Linked DNA regions of Homo sapiens: region 1 is linked to region 2. The links are contacts of gene promoters, found by promoter capture Hi-C in human tissues and cell types (Jung and others, 2019). All regions are on one chromosome and are shown on one strand. Each heading gives the region's core, a stretch centred on a gene start or on the middle of the fragment in contact. The rest is flanking DNA. Distances are from core to core; before and after follow the strand shown.

Region 1 (5,857 bases), core at 615-3,114, 40 kb before region 2:
TTTTTCAATATTTCCAGGCTATAGGGGTTCATCTGCAAGTTTTTGCAAATTGTTACAAATTTCCAAAAAATTGTCTAATGTATTTATTGGGAAAAAAATCCACATATAAGTGGATCTGTGTAGTTCAAACCCGTGTTGTTCAAGGGTCAACTGGATAATTTCAAAAAGTTAAACTGGTAAATTTTATGTTATATATATTTTACCACAATTTTTCAAATGTATTTTAAACAACAAAGAAAAGAAACACAACCCAACTTGTAACATTCCTATTCACTTCTGATAGGCAAAATATTAGAGATAATACAATCAGGGTGACTTCCTTGCTACTGCTCAAACCATATCCCAAAAGTAATCCTGAACTCCATATGGAATCTTGGAACACAGTTGGAAATTAAACTAAAGAGTAAATGTTTTTCAGTCCCCACCAGTTCAGGGTACTATAGAGGGGTGATTTCTTAAGGAATATTATTATAAACATATCATATTGGGGAATTGAGATGTTAAAGTTTTAGCAAAATTGAAATTGTTAGGTTTGGCATATTCTATTTTGAGTAAGGAAACAAAACCCTCTGTTCCCCAATAAATGGCTCCTCTTTTTATAATTCTGTTACTAAACCTACAAGCAAAAGGCAGTTAAGCCAACAACAAGTAGGAAGTCTTCACTCCTAATGAGTCAGTCTTGGGGACCAATATGCCCTTCAGGAATGCTATTATTTCATTCTCCTAGGGAAATAGAGATGTCATGGGTCAAATGTTGACTGCCGAAACTCATCAGAATTTTTTGTTGTTTTTTCTTTTCTTTTTTTTTTTTTTTTTTTTTTTTGATACAGGGTCTCACTCTGTCACCCAGGCTCCAGTGCAGTGGCGACCTCCTGTGCTCAAGCAATCCTCCTGCCTCAGCCTCCCAAGTAGCTGAGACTACAGGTGTGTGTCACCATACCTGGCTCATTTTTGTATTTTTTGTAGATATGGAGTCCCACTATGTCGCCCAGGCTCATCAGTATTTTTGACAAATGACCACATGTACTAAATTTTTCTGCAGTATTTTTCAATATGGAAATAATTGCATGCTTACTAAGAAGATGTAAAAATCATACAGAGAACTTTCATATACCCTTTATTCAGTTTCACTAATTTTTTCCATATTGGCATATTTTCTTTTTCTTCTACCAATATTCACTTTATCGTCGGTTTCTTTTCTTAACCATTTGTGAACACTCCTTTTCTCAATACTTTAGTATGTGTTTCTTAAGAGCAAGGATATTCTTTTACAATGCTACACTAGCTACACAATTCAGGAAATCCAAAATAGATGATAATAGTTTTATCTAATCTACCACCAATAATCCAGTTTTGTCAATTATACCAATAATGTCTTTTAGAACATTTCTCTCTCCTGTACAGGATACTGTCAAGAATCACATGTTGGATTTTATATGTTACATCTTTTCAATCTCTTTAAATCTGGAACAGTTAGTTCCTCAGTCTTTCAGCAGGGGTCAGCTATTCTATACAATGCTCCTCAATTTGAGGTTGGCTGATGTTTCCTTATGATTAAATTCAAACTGCATATACTACACATATTACTACAGTATACTACAGAACACCACATAAAGTGGTGTTGTGTCCTTCTCAAAATATCACATCTGGAGGCATATGAGTCCATCACTGGTGATATTAATTTTTACTACTAGATCAAGGTGTTGTCCACTTTCTCCACTATACATTTACTACACTCCTCCCTTCCATCTAATAGGTAATCTAGGAGTAAACATTTTAAGACCATGAAAATGTCATGATCTGCATCAATATTTATACCCTAGATATAGTATCCACTGATGATTCAAGCCTAAAACAATCTTTGTTATGATTATTGCAAAATAGTTATTTTTTCCAACCATACCACTCCCTCCATATTTATAGGTTGGTATTCTACCTCAAGTAAAAGCTTCTTTTCTCCCGTATTTTTATTTATTTTTCTATTATTTATTATCAGCACAAACTTGTGAATTATTTTATTCAATGGATTTCCATAAATTACTGTTCTTTTGATGCTCAAATTTTTCTAAATTTGGCCAGCTACAGCCCCTTCAAGCTGATTCCTATAGCCTTTTCACAGGTCTCCATTACTTTGTATGAGGACTTTTTTACTTTCTGGCATAATAACGTGTTCCAAGCTTATCTCTTACTTTCTCTGTTCTAGTTGGAATCACTCATTTCTCAAAGGACCTCTGGTTCATTTTCTTTTTTCACAAATTTGTATATACTGAGATAGAACTATTTCAGTGTTTTTGATGACTGACTAGGTTTCATTTTCATATCTCCTTTGTATTATCATTAGAAATCTTTTAAGGAACATACTATGGCATGTGGAAAAGACCTGCGCTTTGGAACGAGACCTGGGCTTTGGAAAGAGTCCTGGCATTAGCACTTTCTAGCTGCAAGAACCTGGGCAAGTTACCTAACTTCATTAAGCCTTTGTTTCTTCCTCTTTAAAGCAGGCAAAATAATGACCACCTCACAGTGTTGTTATGAGGTTTAAGCTTTAAAATGGCTTCTGAGCCTGACACATAAAAAGTACTCAGTAAATTTAAGTGACTTTTTCCTCTTTTAATTACACCACCTTACCATCTTAATGTGATTACTTCTCTCCCTACCCCTTCCATTGCTTCCTCTGAAGCCCTGGAGAACCACTGATTACCTGCCCCTGGTATTGTTCATTGAAATTTTCCCATAATGTCTAATTCTCACTTCAGCCCATCAGGATTCCTTGGCACAGGACACATGCCTAATAATCCCCCTCCTTGCCCCTTCCGTTCGTTCTTTAGAGTGAGAGGCAATATGGTATGAAGGACAAAAATCACTTGATTATATAAAAACATGCAGACAAAGCATTTGATGAAGTTCAGTGACCCCAGAGAGTTATGAATCTTAGGTAATTTCCTTGGCTTAAAATAGGCTACATATCAAAAACCTACACTAAGCATCACATGTAACAGAGAAATGTATTCCCAATAATATTGGACACAAGACAAGAATTCCTGTTATCATTTCTCCACTTAACATAGTACAAAAAGAACTAACCAATGCTGTAGGCAAGAAAAAGACATTAGATGCGTAAGGATTAGATGGGGAAAGTAAACTTACTATTTTCAGACAAAAGTATTATCCACGCAGAAGATTCAACAGAATTAACAAACTATTAGAATTAGTAAGAGTTTGACAAGGTTGTTCTATTATAGGATAAAATTTACAAAACACAATAATATTCCTCTGTGCTAGCAATGATGACCTCAACAATAAGATATCATTCGCAATAGTAAGAGATTATAATCAGTCTGGAAATCAACAAAAAAACTTTGATTTTTACAGAATAAAAACTAAAGAAAATTCTGAATAAATGGGTAGACATCAACTCTTTGAAATGTCAAAGATGACATGTCAAAGTAAAGGTGTCAGTGCTCCCCAAATTAATCTGTACATTCAAAGCAATCCCATCAAATTTGCAAAAGGATTTTTTAAGGAACTCCACAAATTCACTCTTAAAATTTATACGGAAAAGTAAAATTTCAAAAATAGCTAAGGCCACTTTGAAATAGATAAGCAAGGAGAGGAATACTCACTTCATCAGACACTGAGACATGATGGAGCCATAAAAATAGCGTGGTGCTGAATCTGAACCACTGCAGAAGAACAGAGGTCTTAGAAGTAGTACTACATATATATGGGAACTTCGTAAAGATGAAGTTGGAACCACATAACACGCAGAAAGGATGGATCATTTGCAAATTGTGACCGGAAAGTGAATTACTATGATAAGGCAAAATAATGTTAGACCTTATAACTTACATTAAACAATGAAAAAGTGTGCTTTGAATGGATTAAAGACATAAATGTAAGAGGTAAAATTATTTTTAAAAAATCAAATAGAGAAGAGGCCAGGTGCAGTGGGTCACACCTGTAATCTCAACACTTTGGGAGGCCAAGGCAGGAGAAATGCTTGAGCCCAGGAGATGGAGACCAGCCTGGGCAACACAGGAAGACCCAGTCTCTACAAAAATCCAAAAGTTAGCCGGGCGTAGTGGTGCTGGCCTGTAGTTCCAGCCACTTGGGAGGCTGAAGTGGGAGGATCACTTGAGCCCAGGAATTCAAGGCTGTAGTGAGCTTTAATTGTGCCACTGCACTCCAGTCTGGGCGACAGAACAAGACCTTGTCTCAAAAAAGAAAAAAAGAAAAAGAAAAGAAAGAAGAAATATAAAGAAAATGTAAAATAAATTTTAAAGAAAATGTAGAACAGTATATTTTTTATATAAGAGTGAGGGAAAGACTTCTGGAACAAGACCCTAAAATCTCAAAGATTTTTTTAATTGATGTATTTGATTCTATCAAAATAAAGAACACCATAAACAAAGGAACAAATGAATGAGTCTGGGGGAAAATATTTGTAACATCCAAAACCACCAAGAACTTAACACCTATAACGTACAAACAACTCCAGAAAATCAACAAGAAACAGGATGTGAAACCCAATTTTTAAATGAGCAAAGTATTGAAGAGTCATTTCTCAGAAAGGGGAGTGCAAGTAACTAATATATATTCAGAAATGCTCTAACTCTTTACTAAACAAAGAAATTCAAACGAAAATAAGATTATTAAAATAGAAAAAAAATTAAAAATTAGATAATTCCAGAGATGGCAAGATGTAACAAGACAGGAAGTTTACTGTACTGTTAAGAAAAATGTAAACTGATATAGTCATTCTAGAAAGCAATATATTCTGTTTGGCCCCCAAATCCCCTCCTGGGTCTATATGTTAGAGAAATTATTGCACAACTTCATAAGGAGGTCTGTATGAGGTTGTGATGTGGTTTGTGGTAGTGGATCTAAAGACAAACTTGGTGACCCTCAGTAGGAGAATAGTAAAATACAGTGGATGCAATAGTGACTGCCAAGGCCGGGGCTTAAGGAGGAATGAGGAGTTAGTGTTAGTCAGAGGCGCAGCTTCGGAAGAAAAAAAAGTTCCGGAGATGAATAGCGGTGATGAGTGTAGAACAATGGGAATGGATCTAATGCCACAGAACTGTACACATAAAAATGAAGAAAATTTTAAAAATTTTATTATGTAGATTTTACAATTTTTAAAAGATTTTTAAAAGAGAGTGAATGCTTATTATGTAATACCTTAAAGGAGTTAAAAATGAGGGAACCATAGTTATAGCAATATCAATCTCAAAAAACAGGATTGAATGATAAATTAGAAACAGAAACATGTTCCAAACAGCACTCAATATTTTACTATGATATCTGCATCATTAAAGACTCATTATCAACATATTAGTTTGGAAACTGCAGGGAGGGGACTAGCAATGGAGATTGGGGGGAAAATACTAGAATAAGAAGGGTGTTACACAGACCAGTGATAAATGACAATAAGTTATTATGAACTGAGAAGTTTATAGCTTCAGTTAAAAAGAAATGACATCATACACGTGAAAACCTTTGAAAGGATATAAAGTTTTACAGTTTATAGTTTGTTATTTCCGTTATTTGAGGAAGCATGAAATGAACCAAAATAGATTTCATTTCTAATTTTTTGGATCTTCGGTGCATTCTAAGAAATAGTGATTTATACATTGGCTAAGCATCACACATTGGAAGTTCATCTGTATTTTATGAGATTTTATATATCTCCAGTGATCTCTCATTACTACAAATTTTTTCTTTCCTCCTTTTTATACCTGTTCCATGCAGAGCCAGATTAAGGGTGAGTCAGATAGGAGTTGCCTGGGGTGCTAGTATTTAAGAGGTGCTAAAAATATCACTGGAATTATAGCAAGATGGAAAAAATTATTTTCCT
Region 2 (2,500 bases), core at 1-2,500:
GGGGCTTCGCTGGGGCCTGAGCCTGGCGGCCCTCACTCTGGGGAAACACAAAGAAATCCAAAGACCCACCGGCCGCCGTCAGGGACCATCCCTGAGCCTCCGGCCCAAAGCTCCTGGTCTGCCCGCCTCCGGCCGCTTGAGTCATCCTGTTCTCATTACATGTCCCTCACTTCCAGGCCACACGTGCCTTTCCTGTATCTCCAGGGCCCCCAGGGATCCACAACCCAACAAAGGTTTTATTTTATTAATTCTAAGTGCTCTGTGAGTACCTGACCTTTAACCGTGGCCCTCTCTGGCTTTACACGGGCTTTCCGGACAAGTCCCTGGGTAACTCACTTATCACACACACACAAAATATTGTGTCCAAATAGGCAGCCCCAGGCCACTTGTCGGATTTCCCCATACTCAACTAGTATGGCCATGATGCATATAAAACTATCCGTGGAAGAACAGTTTTCCTTTGATTACAAGTGGCCCTTCAGACTCACTGAAGTACCACTCTATGCTTCCCAAATGCCTCTCATCAGCCTACACCACCACAAGGACCCCTCCTTGGGCTTGAAGAGGTCCTCTCACCCCCCTCCCCAAAATACTCAACTGAAAACCAAAATTTTGTTGTCATTAGCGTCCCATAAGGGCAAAGAGCACAATACAGACGCCCGTCCAGCCTTAATAGTACCTGAGGTGCACAGGGCTGAGCCGCGTGGGCTCTCTGTACTTAGGCCTTGGTTTATATATTTAAGGTAAGGCATCCAAGTCACACAGAAAAGGTGAAAGATGATTCACGCCCTTTGCCCTCCCTGACACCCCGAGCGGCATCACAGCACTCACCAAAACTTTGAGGCCCGGGCTGGTAGCCCAGTTAAAAGATATCCAGCTTTAGGATCTGGCGCTAGGGCTGCTGGCTGTGCATGCAAACAGAAATCGGGGTCGCTACCCTCAAACACGAGATCGGGAGCTGATAGCTGGAGGCCCGGAACGAACCCACTGGATGGTGGAGGGGGAGGGAGAAGGTAGGTGGAGGGAAGGAGGGAGGAAGCCAGTCAAGTCCTCAGCGACCTAGCCCAGCACATCCCGAACTCTGCAAAGTTCTGCTCGGTCTTCTGCAGCCTCGGGCGCCTCACCTTGCTGAGGCCGCTTTCGGCTTCCTCTGACCCAGGCTGGGCGGGAAAGGTCGGGCCGCCCCCGCCTGGCTCAGATCGCTGGCTCACCCGGCGGGCGCGCGCAGTTGCATTCAGCGCAGCGCCACTGGCTTCAGTCTGCAGACTGCGCTCCCCTTCCTAGTACTGTCCGCTCAGGCCCCGGAGCTTTACGTCCTCTGATTGGCCGGTTGTCAGGCGGTGTGAATACTGATTGGCCGAGGCACGCTGGCAGGGAGCCCTCCGCCTCCCGCGGTCTACACTCTTCTCTCTGAAGCGCTCCGCCAGAGTCCGCCTACCGGGCCTTCGGTGCAGCCGGCTCGCCTGTCCAGAATCTAAACCCGAGGTATGACGGTGCCTGCAAGAGAGAAGTCACCATTTATCTCGCGGACTGGGAAACAAGCAGAGATACATTCTTAGGAATGCGTTGTCCACAAGAGAAGGTAATAAACGACGAGGAAGAGATCAGAAAGACCAGTATTGGCCTCTATCAGCATCACAAGCATTTCTGCGACTCAATCAATCATTAATCCAAACTGGGCGTAAAAATGATGCCTCTCTTTCGGGGCGTACAGCGACATCCTTCTTTCTCCTGCAAGAGTACATCAATGGTTACCTGGCACCGAAACTCCTAGTTAGCATACAAATAGCCTGTTGATATTTCTGTGTCTAGTGCCACCTATTCTCGAAGTGCCAAATAGCTCCTCATTAACCTTCACCGAGCCCGTGTGGCAGGTGGCCAAGTCGACTACAAGTCACTTACATTTTTCTGTTATATCAGTTGCTATTACAGTTAATGTAGGGAAGATCAGAAATGCATGCTATTAAGAGAATTAGGTAAATCCATTCACACTAAGCATGCATTTAAACAAAGTTATTTTTAAAAAGATGACTACTTTTTAGTGTGCGTAGTTGTATTTATAGACTTTCTAACGACTCCCTCAAAAAATCCTTTACAAAATGTTTAACGATAAAAAATTTTCAACATATTAAAAGAAGGAATTAGTCTTCTAATTCAACGCTGCATTCTATTTCTTGAACTCAATTAAAAATAATATGGGCGCTTTTCTAACTGCATCTGTAAATAATCAAGACCTCTCGAGTAGGATCTGTTTAGGAGACTACAAAATTGGGTATCATTGCACTGAGTACATAGTAGGCCCGCAACAAATATTTGTTGAAGGGTGGGAATTCCTGACGTAATCCCAACGTTACTTTTGTCCGAGTTTGTCAGAATGTTAAAAGTTAACCTGGATCAGAGAAGTGGGAACAAAGGCAGCTTAGGAACTACCGCGACCAGCCAGAAGCACTATTCTCAAACCTTCAGTGATGTTGTAAAGTTCCTCCCCGGTGACCAGGCA

Evidence for each region. Contacts are between HindIII fragments. The study calls those that stand out against the background at their distance.
Region 1: a contact is called between a fragment that was not itself captured here and the fragment with the promoter of DMRT2 in region 2, in 2 of the 25 tissues and cell types used here (lymphoblastoid cells and mesenchymal stem cells).

What each region holds. Positions count from the first base shown.
Region 1 is chr9:1,086,330-1,092,186 of GRCh38, reverse strand. No RefSeq gene overlaps it. Among named protein-coding and RNA genes, the nearest start is that of DMRT2, 39 kb to the right of the region's middle. The HindIII fragment of the contact is 5,637 bases long and covers 1-4,682 here.
Region 2 is chr9:1,049,107-1,051,606 of GRCh38, reverse strand. DMRT2 (doublesex and mab-3 related transcription factor 2) reads right to left here and starts at 1,250. Exons shown (of 4, transcript NM_181872.6): 1 at 832-1,250; 2 at 1-37. RefSeq lists an enhancer at 609-1,478. The HindIII fragment of the contact is 14,990 bases long and covers 1-2,500 here.